5 separate regions of the Homo sapiens genome follow, and all the other regions are linked to region 1. The links are contacts of gene promoters, found by promoter capture Hi-C in blood cells and fetal thymus (Javierre and others, 2016). All regions are on one chromosome and are shown on one strand. The core of a region is centred on a gene start or on the middle of the fragment in contact, and the rest is flanking DNA. Distances in the headings are between cores, read along the strand shown.

Region 1 (2,544 bases), core at 33-2,532:
CAAAAGGAACAATTTGACTCTAGAAAACAAGTGTATTTACCCCCTCCTCTGGTCCTACTTTTTCTCCCCCACCGACCTTATACTTTTGCTGATGTCAATCTTAACTGCAGGACTGGGAGTCTCATGAGGCAATAACACGGTCAAATTAATTTTGCCAGTGCTGATCCTAACCTACAAACTCCATCTGCAATTCCTCGCAGTAAGTCTGACCATAAAAGTGAAATTCACGTTACTTATGATCTAATAAACCTATTGCCTGGGTAGAAATAAATCACTTATAGAATAATAATGCCCACCAAATTTCCTGCAGTCCTTTCAAATCTCCAAGTGCCATGAGGGGTATTCCTCTCCAAAATAAAGTTATCTTGACGGGGGTGGGAGAGTCAGCATCTTGAAGGGTGGGGAAGAAGGAATGGAGAGCATCTCACACGCTCGCCAAAAATTAAAAATTAAAAATTCAGCCTTTACACACGCACACACATACACACACCTCTTGTCTGACTGTACAGAGATAGTCGACAAGCTTTCAGGTTTGCCCACTTTTATTGTGCTAATAATGCTAAGTGTGGAAACCCCCACCTCGTGCTGTTCTGTGTAAGTGTACCGCAACTGCAGGGTGCTCGCCTCCACTGCCAACTGATGATACACTAAAGAAAGCCCGTTTTTTATCCAGATGTAAAATGAAGCTGCACCCCTCCTATACCTGCCGGAAACTACATCTCTCTGCACACACCCTGGGGTAATACGCACTGCACCCGGCGAGTTACCTGGAATACGTTTACTAAATCGACAGGAAGAAGGAAAGATCAATGCGATTCAAGTGCTGACGGTTGTACTCGTGAAGGAAAAAAACAAATGCAAGCCGGGAAGTCCCCAGTGGTGCCTGCACCTAGGAGGCGACTGCAACGGATGGATGCGGGGGTGAGGAAGTGCAGGGAGAGGAAAAAACTGGAGGGAGGCGGGTTGCAAAACTGCTCACCTGTCCGTACACCTTGATGGGCTCGGGCTGCAGGGCAGCGCTCCGTTTCCTCCGGAGCGGCTTCTCGTCCGCGCGGCTCGCCCCCCTGGCATCCCCGCGCGCCCACAGCCGCAGCTCGCGCGGGTCGCCCTGCACCACGAGGAAGCCCCGGTCCTGGGGCAAGGGCGCGCTGCCGCCGTGCAGCCTCTGCGTCCAGACTTCGCAGAGAGCTCCGGGCGGCAGCAGTGCGACCAGGGTGAATAGGAACGGGAGTCGCGACTCCCTCCTGCTGCTCCGTGTCGCCATGTTCGGGCGAACGCTACTGCAGGTGGCGCCGCCGCCAGGAGAGAATGTGCAGCGCGAGGCCAGGAGAGCCGCTGGGCCGGGACCGCGCGCGCCGCTCCCGGGGCTCCAGGCCGCCCGCGCCGCTCCGGGCCGCCCCGCTGCGCCCGCCGCCGCTGCCGCCAGGTCCCGCTCGGTTCGGCGCGGCGCCGTCACGTGTGAGGCTCGCAGCGCGTCCCTTTCGCGCACTTTCTGCGCTCGGCGGCCTCGGCGGCGACTCCGGCCCCTCCCTGGCGCGGGGATGGGGAAGTTAAGGCAGCGAGCGCCGGTGGGGGTGCGTCCCTTCCCTGGCGGGCACACCTCCTTGTTCTCCCTGCAGGAATGAAGAGTTGCATGGGGCTCGCTCGTTTTCTCTGGAGTTAGTTGCGTCCTATACAGGGTCGTGTCGAGGTCGTCCTAAACCGTGGCCACTTTCCTGAGTGCACAGCCCGCAGTAGCGCCACAAGACCACCTCCCCCCGGCCCCGGCCTCATCCCCACCTCCAGGGAAGAGTCCAGAGCCACAGAATTAGCTCCTAGAACGCAACCAACAAGAGTCCAGATGAACCCGCTCTATTGGGAAACTCACAGTTTTTCATCTACTCTGGGCACCACAACGTATTTGCAGGGGCCACAGCAAAAACTACCCTTGATCAAGCTACGTGCCCCAGCCTGAAGCACAGCAAATAAACATCCTGCACAGAGGCAGTAAAAACAAGGGTACATCTGACAAAGAATGCACCACACCTGGACAATTATTACACAGCTATACAGGGTGTGCTTGCACGCACGCATGAATACCTGTGCGTGGCACAGGGCCCCAGCGGCGGCTTGCTTATGATCCCTCCAAGGTGACCAAGCACTGAGCCACCCTGCCTCAGCAGTAAAATAGACATATTTACCAGTCCCTTCAACCCACAGCCAGGAGCTAGGCAAACACCCACAGAGGAGGGAGGACACACTTTAACCCTACATTCAGCTTGACGAGCCAAACTCTCTGAACCACAGGAGATAAAACTTCTGCCATGGAACTGCTAAGGTACGCCCAAGGAAAATATTTTTTTTGCAGGTTAGTGGGAGCAGCCAAAGTCTATGTACTACTGCAACCTTTCCTATTTCATTTTATGTTTCACTGCCCTCTGAACTCAGATCCTGGTTTTTGATAAGAATAAAGACACAGCAAGCAGGGCTGAAAGGGAGACTACCTTTATAGTTGCATACAAGCTGCTGTTCAGGGGAAGGAAGGGATGGTCAGTTCAATTTTCT
Region 2 (2,544 bases), core at 15-2,514, 1.7 Mb before region 1:
CAGCAGCCCCCATGAGCACTGCTAAGCCTTGGAGTTAAAGACAGAGGCCGGACGCGGTGGCTCACACCTGTAATCCCAGCACTTTGGGAGGCTGAGGCGGGTGGATCATAAGGGGTCAGGAATTCGAGACGAGCCTGGCCAACATGGTGAAACCCCGTCTCTACTAAAGATACAAAAAATTAGCTGAGCATGGTGGCGCCTGCCTGTAATCCCAGCTACTTGAAAGGCTGAGGCAGGAGAATCGTTTGAACCTGGGAGGCGGAGGTTACAGCGAGCTGAGATGACGCCATTGCATTCCAGCCTGAGCAACAGGGCGAGACTCCGTCTGGGGAAAAAAAAAATAGAACCCAGGACCGGGCGCGGTGGCTCATGCCTGTAATCCTAGACTTTGGGAGGCTGAGGCGGGCAGATCACTTGAGGCCAGGAGTTTGAGACCAGCCTGGTCAACATGGAGAAACCCCATCTCTACTAAAAAAAATAGCTCGGTGGGTGGTGCAACCCTGTAATCCCAGTTACTCATGAACCCGAGATCACAGCACTGCACTCCAGCCTGGGCTACAGAGGGAGAATCTGGATTAAAAAAAAAAAAAAAAAAAAAAAAAGCCAGGCATGGTGGCTCAGGCCTGTAATCCCAGCACTTTGGGAGGCCGAGGCGGGCTGATCACCTGAGGTCAGGAGTTTGAAACCAGCTTGGCCAACGCAGTGAAATCCCGTCTCTACTAAAAATACAAAAATTAGCCAGGCATGGTGGTGCATGCCTGTAATCCCCGCTACTCAGGAGGCTGAGGCACAACAATCACTTTAACCTGGGAGGCAGAGGTTGCAGTGAGCCGAGATTGCGCGACTGCACTCTAGCCTGGGCAACAGAGTGACACTCTGTCTCAAAAAAAAAAAAAAAGAGACAGAACCCAGGCCCCTCTCTGCTTAGGTGGGTTTAAAAAAGAAAAGAAAAAAAAGTACAGAAGACCCTTTGAGCAATGTAAAAAAATGTAAAAGCTTTAATGTAAAAAAAAAGAAAGAAAGAAAGAAAAAAAAAGGGACAGAAGGAGAAGGACCTTAGAAATCTGTAGAAATCTCAGTGGCCTCCTGGAGTCTAACGAACTGAAGTTCAAGGAAGACTAGAAGTGTATGCGCCCTGATCTCATGGCTCCCTGCCTTGATGAAGCCATTTGTATTCACAGAGGGGCTCCTCCCTGCACTGCTGTATTTAATTCTGGATATGGTATAAATAGGACTTGGCTGACTGTCAAAGCACACCACCCGCCACAATGTTCCAGTTTTTTGGGGACATCAGACGAATCTGAGCCTTTGATTCCCTCTAGTGGCTTAAATTGGCAACTTTCATAGCTGGCTCTTGGCATTTGTTATTGAATGTTTAAGTATCTATTGTATGCACTAAATTGGTGCTGGGTTCTCTAGCTCTGCCTGGAATGTAGGGCACTGGTTTCATTTGAGCATTTTTGTGTCCGGTGGAAAGTGATCAGGGTTAAGCCAGAGCTCCTTCTTACAAAGCTCCTTCTTAACAAAGCTTAGCTTAGTACAGTGCAAACCAGTGAATTTCCCAGCTATTCTAAAGCTGCTTTATAGTAATTCTGGGAGGATGGGTTATTATATGGGTTATTTCTGCCGCTAAATGAGTTGTAGGACCTTGGGCTGTCTCTTTTACCCCTGGGTCTTAGTTTGCTCATTGGTAAAAATGAGCGTGTGGGTTACACTCAGATAAATTCAACAAATATTAATTGAACACCTGCAGTGTGAGACCCTGGGCTGAGTACTATGAGAAGGCAGCAATGAATGGTACTTGATGTCAAAGAGCTTACAGGATAATGGGAGAACCAGACATCCTGGAAGCCACATAAAATTGGGCAGGAGGAGGCTGGGCGTGGTAGCTCACACCTGTAATTCCAGCACTTTGGGAGGCTGAGGCGGGTGGATCACTTGAGGCCAAGAGTTCGAGACCAGCCTGACCAACATGGTGAAATCCTGTCTCTACTAAAAATACAAAAAAAAAAAAAAAAAAAAAGCTACTCGGGAGGCTGAGGCAGGAGAATCACTGGAACCTGGGAGGCGGAGGTTGCAGTGAGAGGAGATCGAGCCACTGCACTCCAGCCTGGGTGACAGAGCAAGACTATCTCAAAAAAAAAAAAAACCTGGCTGGGCACGGTGGCTGTCACCTGTAATCCCATCACTTTGGGAGGCCGAGGTGGGCGGATCACGAGGTCAGGAGATTGAGACCATCTTGGCCAACGTGGTGAAACCCTGTCTCTACTAAAAATACAAAAATTAGCTGGGTGTGGTGGCACATGCCTGTAGTCCCAGCTACTCAGGAGGCTGAGGCAGGAGAATCACTTGAACCGGGGAGTCGGAGGTTGCACTGAGCCAAGATTGTGCCACTGCACTCCAGCCTGGCGACAGAGAGACACTCCATCTCAAAAAAAAAAAAAAAAAAAACCTGGAAAGATAGCTCAAAGGGCCAATCTTAGGTTCTACAATAGTGTTATTTGCAGGAATAACTAGGGAAGTTGCATATCTTATTTTTTTTTT
Region 3 (2,544 bases), core at 34-2,533, 1.6 Mb before region 1:
TCTTTTCCAACTATCCCAGCAATTTTGCATTACTAAGTCAGCTCTATCACCTGCCAAGAAACCTACCCTTCCAGCTGGGCATGGTGGCTCACACCTGTAATCCCAGCACTTTGGGAGGCCGAGGCGGGCAGATCACCTGAAGTCAGGAGTTCGAGACCAGCCTGACCAACGTGGAGAAACCCCATCTCTTCTAAAAATACAAAATTAGCTGGGCCTGGTGGCACATGCCTGTAATCCCAGCTACTCAGGAGGCTGAGGCAGGAGAATCACTTGAACCCGGGAGGCGGAGGTTGTGGTGAGCCAAGATCATGCCATTGCACCCCAGCCTGGGCAAAAAGAGTGAAACTCCGTCTCAAAGAAAAAAAAAAAAGAAACAAAACGAAACCTACCCTACAGAGTACAACAGGATGTGGGGCCAACAACACCCTACAAACATTTTTCTGTTTTGTTTTGTCTTGTTTTGAGGCAGAGTCTCACTCTGTCCCTAGGCTGGAGTGCAGTGGCATGATCTTGGCTCACTGGAACCTCTGCCTCCTGGGTTCCAGCGATTCTTCTGCCTCAGCCTCTTTAGTAGCTGGGACTACAGGCATATGCCACCACACCCAGCTAATTTTTGTATTTTTAGTAGAGACAGGGTTTCACCATATTGGCCAGGATGGTCTCGATCTCTTGACCTCGTGATCCACCCGCCTCGGCATCCCAAAGTACTGGGATTACAGGCATGAGCCACTGCACCGAGCCGCAAATATTTATTTATTTCATTTTATTTTTTTGAGACAGAATCTTGTTATGTTGCCCAGGCTGGAGTGCAGTGGCATAATCTCCACTCACTGCAATCTCTGCCTCCCAGGTTCAAGTGATTCTGCTGCCTCAGCCTCCTGAGTAGCTGGGTTTACAGGCGCACACCACCACACCTAGTTTTTTCTTTCTTTCTTTTTTTTTTTGAGACGGAGTTTCGCTCTTGTTGCTCAGACTGCAGTGCAATGCCGTGATCTTGGCTCATTGCAACCTCCGCCTCCCGGGTTCAAGCAATTCTCCTGCCTCAGCCTCCCGAGTAGCTGGGATTATAGGCATGCGCCATCACGCCCGGCTAATTTTGTATTTTTAGTAGAGACGGGGTTTCACCATGTTGGTCAGGCTGGTCTTGAACTCCCAACCTCAGGTGATCTGCCCACCTCGGCCTCCCAAAGGACTGGGATTATAGGCGTGAGCCACCACGTCAGGCCACCTGTCTAATTTTTGTATTTTTTAGTAGAGACAGGGTTTCACCATGTTGGCCAGGCTGGTCTCAAACTCCTGACTTCAAGTGATCTGCTTGCCTTGGCGTCCCAAAATGCTGGGATTACAGTTGTGAGCCACCGCACCCAGTTACATTTTTTTCTTTTTTTAAATTTTATTTGTTGAGACAGGGTCTCACTCTGTCACCCAGGCTGGAGTACAGTGGCGCAGTCTTGGCTCACTATAGCCTCAACCTCCTGGGCTCAAGCAAACCACCAGCCTTGGTCTCCCAAAGTGCTTGGATTACAGGCGTGAACCACCACGCATCTGGCCCCCACAAATATTTAGAACAAACAAGTACCACATCCAGGAGAAGGGCTGTGATCCTAGCTCTTCCCCATCTGTGCCTAAAGCAGAGGGCTTTCCCTTGAGTGCTAGGAACCCCATGGAATTATCTGCAAAATAATATGTGAGTTTTTTCTGGGTCAGAGTTCATAGGTTTTATCTGATTGAGAGAACCTTCTCAGGAAAGGCTCTGAAGAGCTGTGGAGCAACACGTGATCAAAGGCAGGGTTGAGGGCTTGAGTGAAACAATTTGGAACAGCTGCAGCTGAAATGTGCCTGGGAGATGCCCATATGCTTGCATGCCTTTTTTAGTGCCCTTCTGTGTAGCTGGAATGCTCCCTCCAGGCCTTTTCTCCTTGCCTCTCAAAGCCTAGCTCAAATGCCACCAACTTGTCTGGGACACTCTCCTTGATACTATTTCAAATAAATCATTTCTTTTTCTCTGTTTAATAGTCTTTCCTTGTTAATCTCACTTGATTATAAATCACTTGAACCAAAGAAGAGATTTGCCAGGCGCAGTGGCTCACACCTGTAATCCCAGCACTTTGGGAAGCCGAGGAGGGTGGATCACCTGAGGTCAGGACTTTGAGACCAGCCTGGCCAGAATGGTGAAACCCCATCTCTACTAAAATAAAAAATTAGGGCCAGGCGCAGTGGCTCACACCTGTAATCCCAGCACTTTGGGAGGCTGAGGCAGGCAGATCATCTGAGGTCAGGAGTTCAAGACCAGCCTGGCCAACATGGAGAAACCCCAGCTCTACTAAAAATACAAAAATGAGCGAGTCATGGTGGCATGCATCTGTAATCCCAGCTACTCAGGAGACTGAGGCAGAAGAATTGCTTGAACCCAGGAGACAGAGGTTGCAGTGAGCCAGGATCGCACCATTGTACTCCAGACCGGGCGACAAGAGTGAGACTCTATCTCAAAAAAAAAACAAAAAAAAAAAAACATAAAAAATTAGTTCGGCTTAGTGAAATAGG
Region 4 (2,544 bases), core at 26-2,525, 1.3 Mb before region 1:
AGTCTTGATGAGGTTAAGTGACCTAGCCAAGGTTAAATGCTTACAAGTGATTTTTTTGCTCTCTATTAAAATTCCTCCCCCAGCCACACACTGTGGACAGCTCTTTTCTAAATCTTCCTCCTCTATAATCCATACTTCTCTCTATTGTTAGAATAATTTTTCTAAAACAGGTTGAGTTAAACTTTCCACTCCTCAGTCTGGGCATCGTAGTGAGACCCTGTCTCTACAAAAAATTTACAAATTACCCGGGTGTGGTGGCACATGCTGTAGTCTCAGCTACTCAGGAGGCTGAGGCAGGAGGATCCCTGAGCCCTGTAATTTGAGGCTGCAGTAAGCCGTGATCGTGCCACCACACTCCAGCCTGAGCAACAGAGTGGGACCTTGTCTCAAAAACAAAACAAAGCAGAACAAAACAAACCCTTCCACTCCTGTACAACTGTCCATGGCTCCCTTATATCCACACAAAGCAAAATTCAAATATTCAAATTCATAAACGTAACTTTTTTTTTTTTTTTTTGAGACAGAGTTTCACTCTTGTTGCCCAGGCTGGGGTGCAATGGTGTGATCTCGGCTCACCACAACCTCCTCCTCCTGAGTTCAAGCAATTCTTCTGCCTCAGCCTCCCAAGTAGCTGTGATTACAGGCATGCACCACCACGCCCAGCTAATTTTGTATTTTTGTAGAGACGGGGTTTCTCCATGTTGGTCAGGCTGGTCTCGAACTCCTGACTTCAGGTGATCTGCCCACCTCAGCCTCACAAAGTGCTAGGATTACAGGCGTGAGCCACTGTGCCTGGATGAATGTAACATTCTTTACAGGCTCAACTCCCACCGTAGCTCTTCCTGCCTCTTCCTGACCATTGCACTTGACCACATCTGTTGTCATGCTGTGTAACCCCATGGCTCAGGCTTCTTGCCATGCCTGTCCTTCTGTGTTGCTTTACTTTATTCCCACTGAAAGCCTGTCTTCTCCTCTGTCTTCTATCTCTTCCTCCCTGGAACTGCTTCTTTGCATTTAAACAGCCTCTCTCAAGTGCTCAATTGCACTTTCCCCTTCAGCTAAAAGTCACTCTAATTTGGCACTTCCCCACTAACAAAGTCCCTAATAGTTATTCATGCCATTGAATAATAATGGCTAAGATTTACTGCACATGTATTAAGACACCAATCTAAATACAATGCAATCGTTCCAACTTATGGATGAGGCTCAGTGTAAATAACTGGTCTAAGGTCACTTAGTAAGTAACAGTGAGAATCTGAGTCACCACACTCTATTCAATGGGATTTTTGTCTCTTGACCTCTCAACGGCATTTCCCATTAGGAGCCCTCCCTTTGTTCTCTACTTTTACTTTCCTGATTATGCCCCTTTGGTTTGTCTTTTGCCCTTTTCTCTAGTGGCTTATTCTCAGTTTCCTTTGTAAACTCTGACTTCTCTACAGGCACTTTAATTGCTAGTATTCCTCAGGAATCTGTCCAGTCTTTCTCCATACATTCTACTCATTCTCTCCGGGTAATCCCAGCTCTTCCCTGGGCCATACCTCCAGCTTCTACATGCTAAGGATGCCCTTAGTCTCCAGGTCCCTCCAGTTTCTCCTGCTCAACCCTCTGGCGTCCTGACCTATTCCTTACTAGAAATCTCCACTTGAATATCTTGCTTGCACTAAACCTCATGTGTTCAAAAAGTGAACTCACCTTTTTCCCCGCCAATTTTGCTTCTCTCCAGAGTCTCTTGGCTCAGGGCAGAGCATCCATGCAATTTCCCAAGTTTCATTCATGCAGAATGAAAAAAAAAAGGGCTAGGGGAACACAGAGAGAATGCTGGGAGAATTCAGGAGTTTATGTAGAAGGTGGGGCTTTAGCGACGCTCCTCATTCTTACTGAGCATCTACCTCACGGCCTGTACTACACTTAGCACTGAGATCAACAGGCTAAGATCCACCTAAGATCCATCCTTGACTTCTCTCTTTCTCTCACCTCTCCTATCTAATTCATCATTAGGTCCTGTCCATGTGTGCCTCCTAAATTTCTTGGACACTGGTTCTTTTTTATCCCTTGTTTTCTCTCTGTGTTAAGCCCCATCACCCCTCGCTTTGACAACTCCGGCAGCTTTAACAAATCTCCTGCTTCCGGTTTTGCCCTTTCCAATTTATTCTCCAAATATACAATGATAATCATACACTCTTCTTCTTAAAACAACCCAGTAGCTCCCTATTTCCTCTAGGGTAAAGTTCCAGAACCTTAACATGGCTAATTTGCCTGTATGCTCTATTTTCTGGCCCTTCCCTGGTTTACTTTAGGCTACCCTCTTCCGGCAACATTAGATTTCTTTCAGTTCCTTGAACGTGCCACATTTTCTCACAGCTGAGCAGTGGGCATGCATTCTTTCTTCAGGAACATTCTTTCCCTTCCCTACAGTAATATCTCTGCCCACCTCTCAATCTTAGCTTAAATCTTCTATGTTGCTTTCCTTGATCCTTTATTTCCTTTCATTTCTTCATTTCATTCCATTTCATTTCATTTTGAGAGAGGGTCTCACTATGTTGC
Region 5 (2,544 bases), core at 25-2,524, 1.3 Mb before region 1:
ATAATGCATCTGAGAATGTCTGCAGAACAGGCAGTCTGGATTAAGGACTTTTAAAGGGATGGTGTTTGAACAAGGATTCTTTCAGGGAAACCATCTTGAGAATTACTGAACTCTCAGGCAAGCTCACTCTGACAAATATCCTTAAGCAAGCTTTGAGCTAGAGCTGAAATCCTGGTGTGGTAAATATCATCATACGGGAAAGCAATTTATAGCAAAAAAGATTTAGTGGTCCTCCCAGCCACCACATTCCCACTCCCACCCCCCCGTAGTGCTGTGGAAGATTTGCTTACTCTAAGTGAACAGAATTCCATAAAGAGCTTGGCTGGTCAGTCAGCATCTGTTGTAGAAACTGACCTAGAGTCATTCATTCTTTTTTTTTTTTTTTTTTTTTTTTGAGACACAGTCTTGCTCTGTTGCCCAGACTGGAGTGCAGTGCCGCGATCTTGGCTCACTGCAAACCTCCACCACCGGGTTCAAGCGATTCTCCTGACTCAGCCTCCAGAGTAGCTGGGACTACAGGCACACGCCACCACGCCTGGCTAATTTTTTGTATTTTTGGTAGAGACGGGGTTTCACCGTGTGAGCCGGGATGGTCTCCATCTCCTGACCTTGTGATCTGCCCACCTCGGCCTCCCAAAGTGCTGGGATTACAGGCGTGAGCCACCGCGCCTGGCCGAGTCATTCATTCTTTTAACATCTACTATGTGTCAGACATTTTTCTAGCCTTGGGGATATAGCAGAGAAAAAAAAAATACAAAGATTTTTGACCTCATGCAGTTTATATTCTAGGGGAGAGGACAGTTATAGTAAGCGTTTTGGAAAAAATAAGGCAGGGAAGGGTGGGAAGGGATTCCTATTTTGCATGGAAAGATTAGATAAAGGTAATGAATGAGTCAGGGAGGGAGAGCTCTGTGGATAGCTGTGTGAAGAGCCTTCCTGGAAGAGCAAGCACAAAGGCCCCAGGCAATGGCGTGTGTAGTGTATTCAAGGAACAAAGAATAGACCATGTGGCTTCAGCTGAATGGGCAAGGAGGTACATGCTAGGAAACAGATTCAGAGAGGTAGCAAGGGAACACCCTAGAGACAGGAAGGCTTTAGATTTAACTTTGTAACACAGAGAACGTTGGGGCATTTTGAGCAGTGGAGTGATTCCATCTGCCTTACACTTTGAAAGGATCTCCAACTATTCTGATGAGAAGAGACTACAAGAAAGCAAAAGCCAAAACAGGGAGACCAGTTTGGAGGCAATTGCAATAATACAAGCAAGAGAGAATGCCAGGGATTTGGATCTGTGGAAGCGGCGAAGCTGACAGATTCACTGATGGACTGGATGGAAAAAGTGAGGCGCTAAGGGTGACTCCAAGGCATTAGAATGAACATCTGGAAGAAAGAGTTATCCTGCTTGGAGATGACAAGACTGTGGGAGGACCCATGTTTGAGATGCCTATTTGACATCCATAGGAGATGCTGAGTACGGAGTCTGGAAAATGGGAGAGAGGACTGGGTGGGGGATGTAAGTGCAGGAGTTGTCAGCATATGGATAGTACATAAAGCCAGGAGTTTGGAGACTACTATGGGGGTGAGTTTAGACAAAGGAGAGAAGGGGTCCATGGTTTTCAGCTGAGGGCTCTCCAATATTTACAGGTGAGGAGATGAGGAAGCCAGCCAAGGAGTTGGAGCAGAAGCAGGCACTGCAGTAGGAGGACTAAGAGAGAAGAAACTCCTAGAAGCCAAGGGTCTTTAAGGAAGCATCGAGAGAGGACTGATCGCCTGCATCCAATGCTGCTGATGGAGGATGGAATTGCTCACAATATATGGCACTACTGTGGCCATTAGTGACCTTGATGACAGCAGCTTTGGGGGGCAGTGTGACAGAAGCCTGATTGAAATAAGTTTAAGAGAAAAGAGGAGGATAGGAAGTGGAAACAGCCAGTAGAGACAACTTGTTTGGGAAGTGTTACTGTTCAAGAATCTGATTTAACACTTTAGGTTTTGCAAGAAGAGAAACAGATGAAATGATCTTTCCAGCTACTAAGGCTGATTATTACTACCTTTGCTGGGAGGCTCCTTGACCTATGTGATGGGATACATAGATGCCTGGTTCTGATGAACTCATGATGTGAACCACAGGTTTTTCCCTCTCAGAGACTTATTTTAAGGAGGACGAAGGGGAAAAGACAAGGAGAGAGTAATGAAAGAAAGGGACAAGAAAAATGGTAAGAAAGACTTTTAAAGAGTTTCAAGCCATGTTAAGTTTCCTAAACCATTTCTTTTCCATTGCAAACATCACTAACATAACTCCCAAATTTCCTGGTTAAATTTAGCACAGATGTAAAATTTTGAGCACTGGTGGACATGGGTATCTAAACCAATCATCTGATGAGGAAATTGAAGCTTAGAGAAGGGAATTGACTTCCGGGCACTCCCAATTATTAGCCGCGTGGTCTTAGACAAGTTACTTTTAACCTCAGCGTGTTAGTTAATCCATCTGTAAATTGGCAGTGTAAGAATACCCATCACCAATCTAACGTAATCATGCTTAGA

Evidence for each region. The method cuts DNA at HindIII sites, captures the fragments that hold promoters and counts their contacts. A CHiCAGO score of 5 or more calls a contact.
Region 2: a contact is called between a fragment that was not itself captured here and the fragment with the promoter of SORL1 in region 1, in 2 of 17 cell types (non-activated CD4 T cells and activated CD4 T cells). The highest score is 5.5, in non-activated CD4 T cells.
Region 3: a contact is called between a fragment that was not itself captured here and the fragment with the promoter of SORL1 in region 1, in 2 of 17 cell types (non-activated CD4 T cells and activated CD4 T cells). The highest score is 7.5, in non-activated CD4 T cells.
Region 4: a fragment that was not itself captured here is called in contact with the fragment with the promoter of SORL1 in region 1 in 2 of 17 cell types (activated CD4 T cells and non-activated CD4 T cells); the score reaches 7.7 in activated CD4 T cells.
Region 5: a contact is called between a fragment that was not itself captured here and the fragment with the promoter of SORL1 in region 1, in 1 of 17 cell types (non-activated CD4 T cells). The highest score is 5.2, in non-activated CD4 T cells.

Annotation. Positions count from the first base shown.
Region 1 is chr11:121,451,052-121,453,595 of GRCh38, reverse strand. It overlaps SORL1 (sortilin related receptor 1), which reads right to left and starts at 1,282. Exons shown (of 48, transcript NM_003105.6): 1 at 980-1,282. The coding sequence starts at 1,264. SORL1-AS1 (SORL1 antisense RNA 1) reads left to right here and starts at 629. Exons shown (of 3, transcript NR_183636.1): 1 at 629-921. RefSeq lists enhancers at 446-495, 516-585, 626-675, 686-875, 2,266-2,325 and silencers at 1,166-1,215, 1,346-1,395. The HindIII fragment of the contact is 8,160 bases long and covers 526-2,544 here.
Region 2 is chr11:123,102,187-123,104,730 of GRCh38, reverse strand. The region is part of intron 1 of CLMP (CXADR like cell adhesion molecule); the gene reads left to right. Among named protein-coding and RNA genes, the nearest start is that of HSPA8, 41 kb to the right of the region's middle. The HindIII fragment of the contact is 532 bases long and covers 999-1,530 here.
Region 3 is chr11:123,085,738-123,088,281 of GRCh38, reverse strand. The region is part of intron 2 of CLMP (CXADR like cell adhesion molecule); the gene reads left to right. Among named protein-coding and RNA genes, the nearest start is that of HSPA8, 25 kb to the right of the region's middle. The HindIII fragment of the contact is 2,767 bases long and covers 1-2,544 here.
Region 4 is chr11:122,736,861-122,739,404 of GRCh38, reverse strand. The region is part of intron 1 of UBASH3B (ubiquitin associated and SH3 domain containing B); the gene reads right to left. Among named protein-coding and RNA genes, the nearest start is that of UBASH3B, 82 kb to the right of the region's middle. The HindIII fragment of the contact is 3,376 bases long and covers 1-2,544 here.
Region 5 is chr11:122,719,095-122,721,638 of GRCh38, reverse strand. All of the region lies in intron 1 of UBASH3B (ubiquitin associated and SH3 domain containing B), which reads right to left. Among named protein-coding and RNA genes, the nearest start is that of UBASH3B, 65 kb to the right of the region's middle. The HindIII fragment of the contact is 2,244 bases long and covers 153-2,396 here.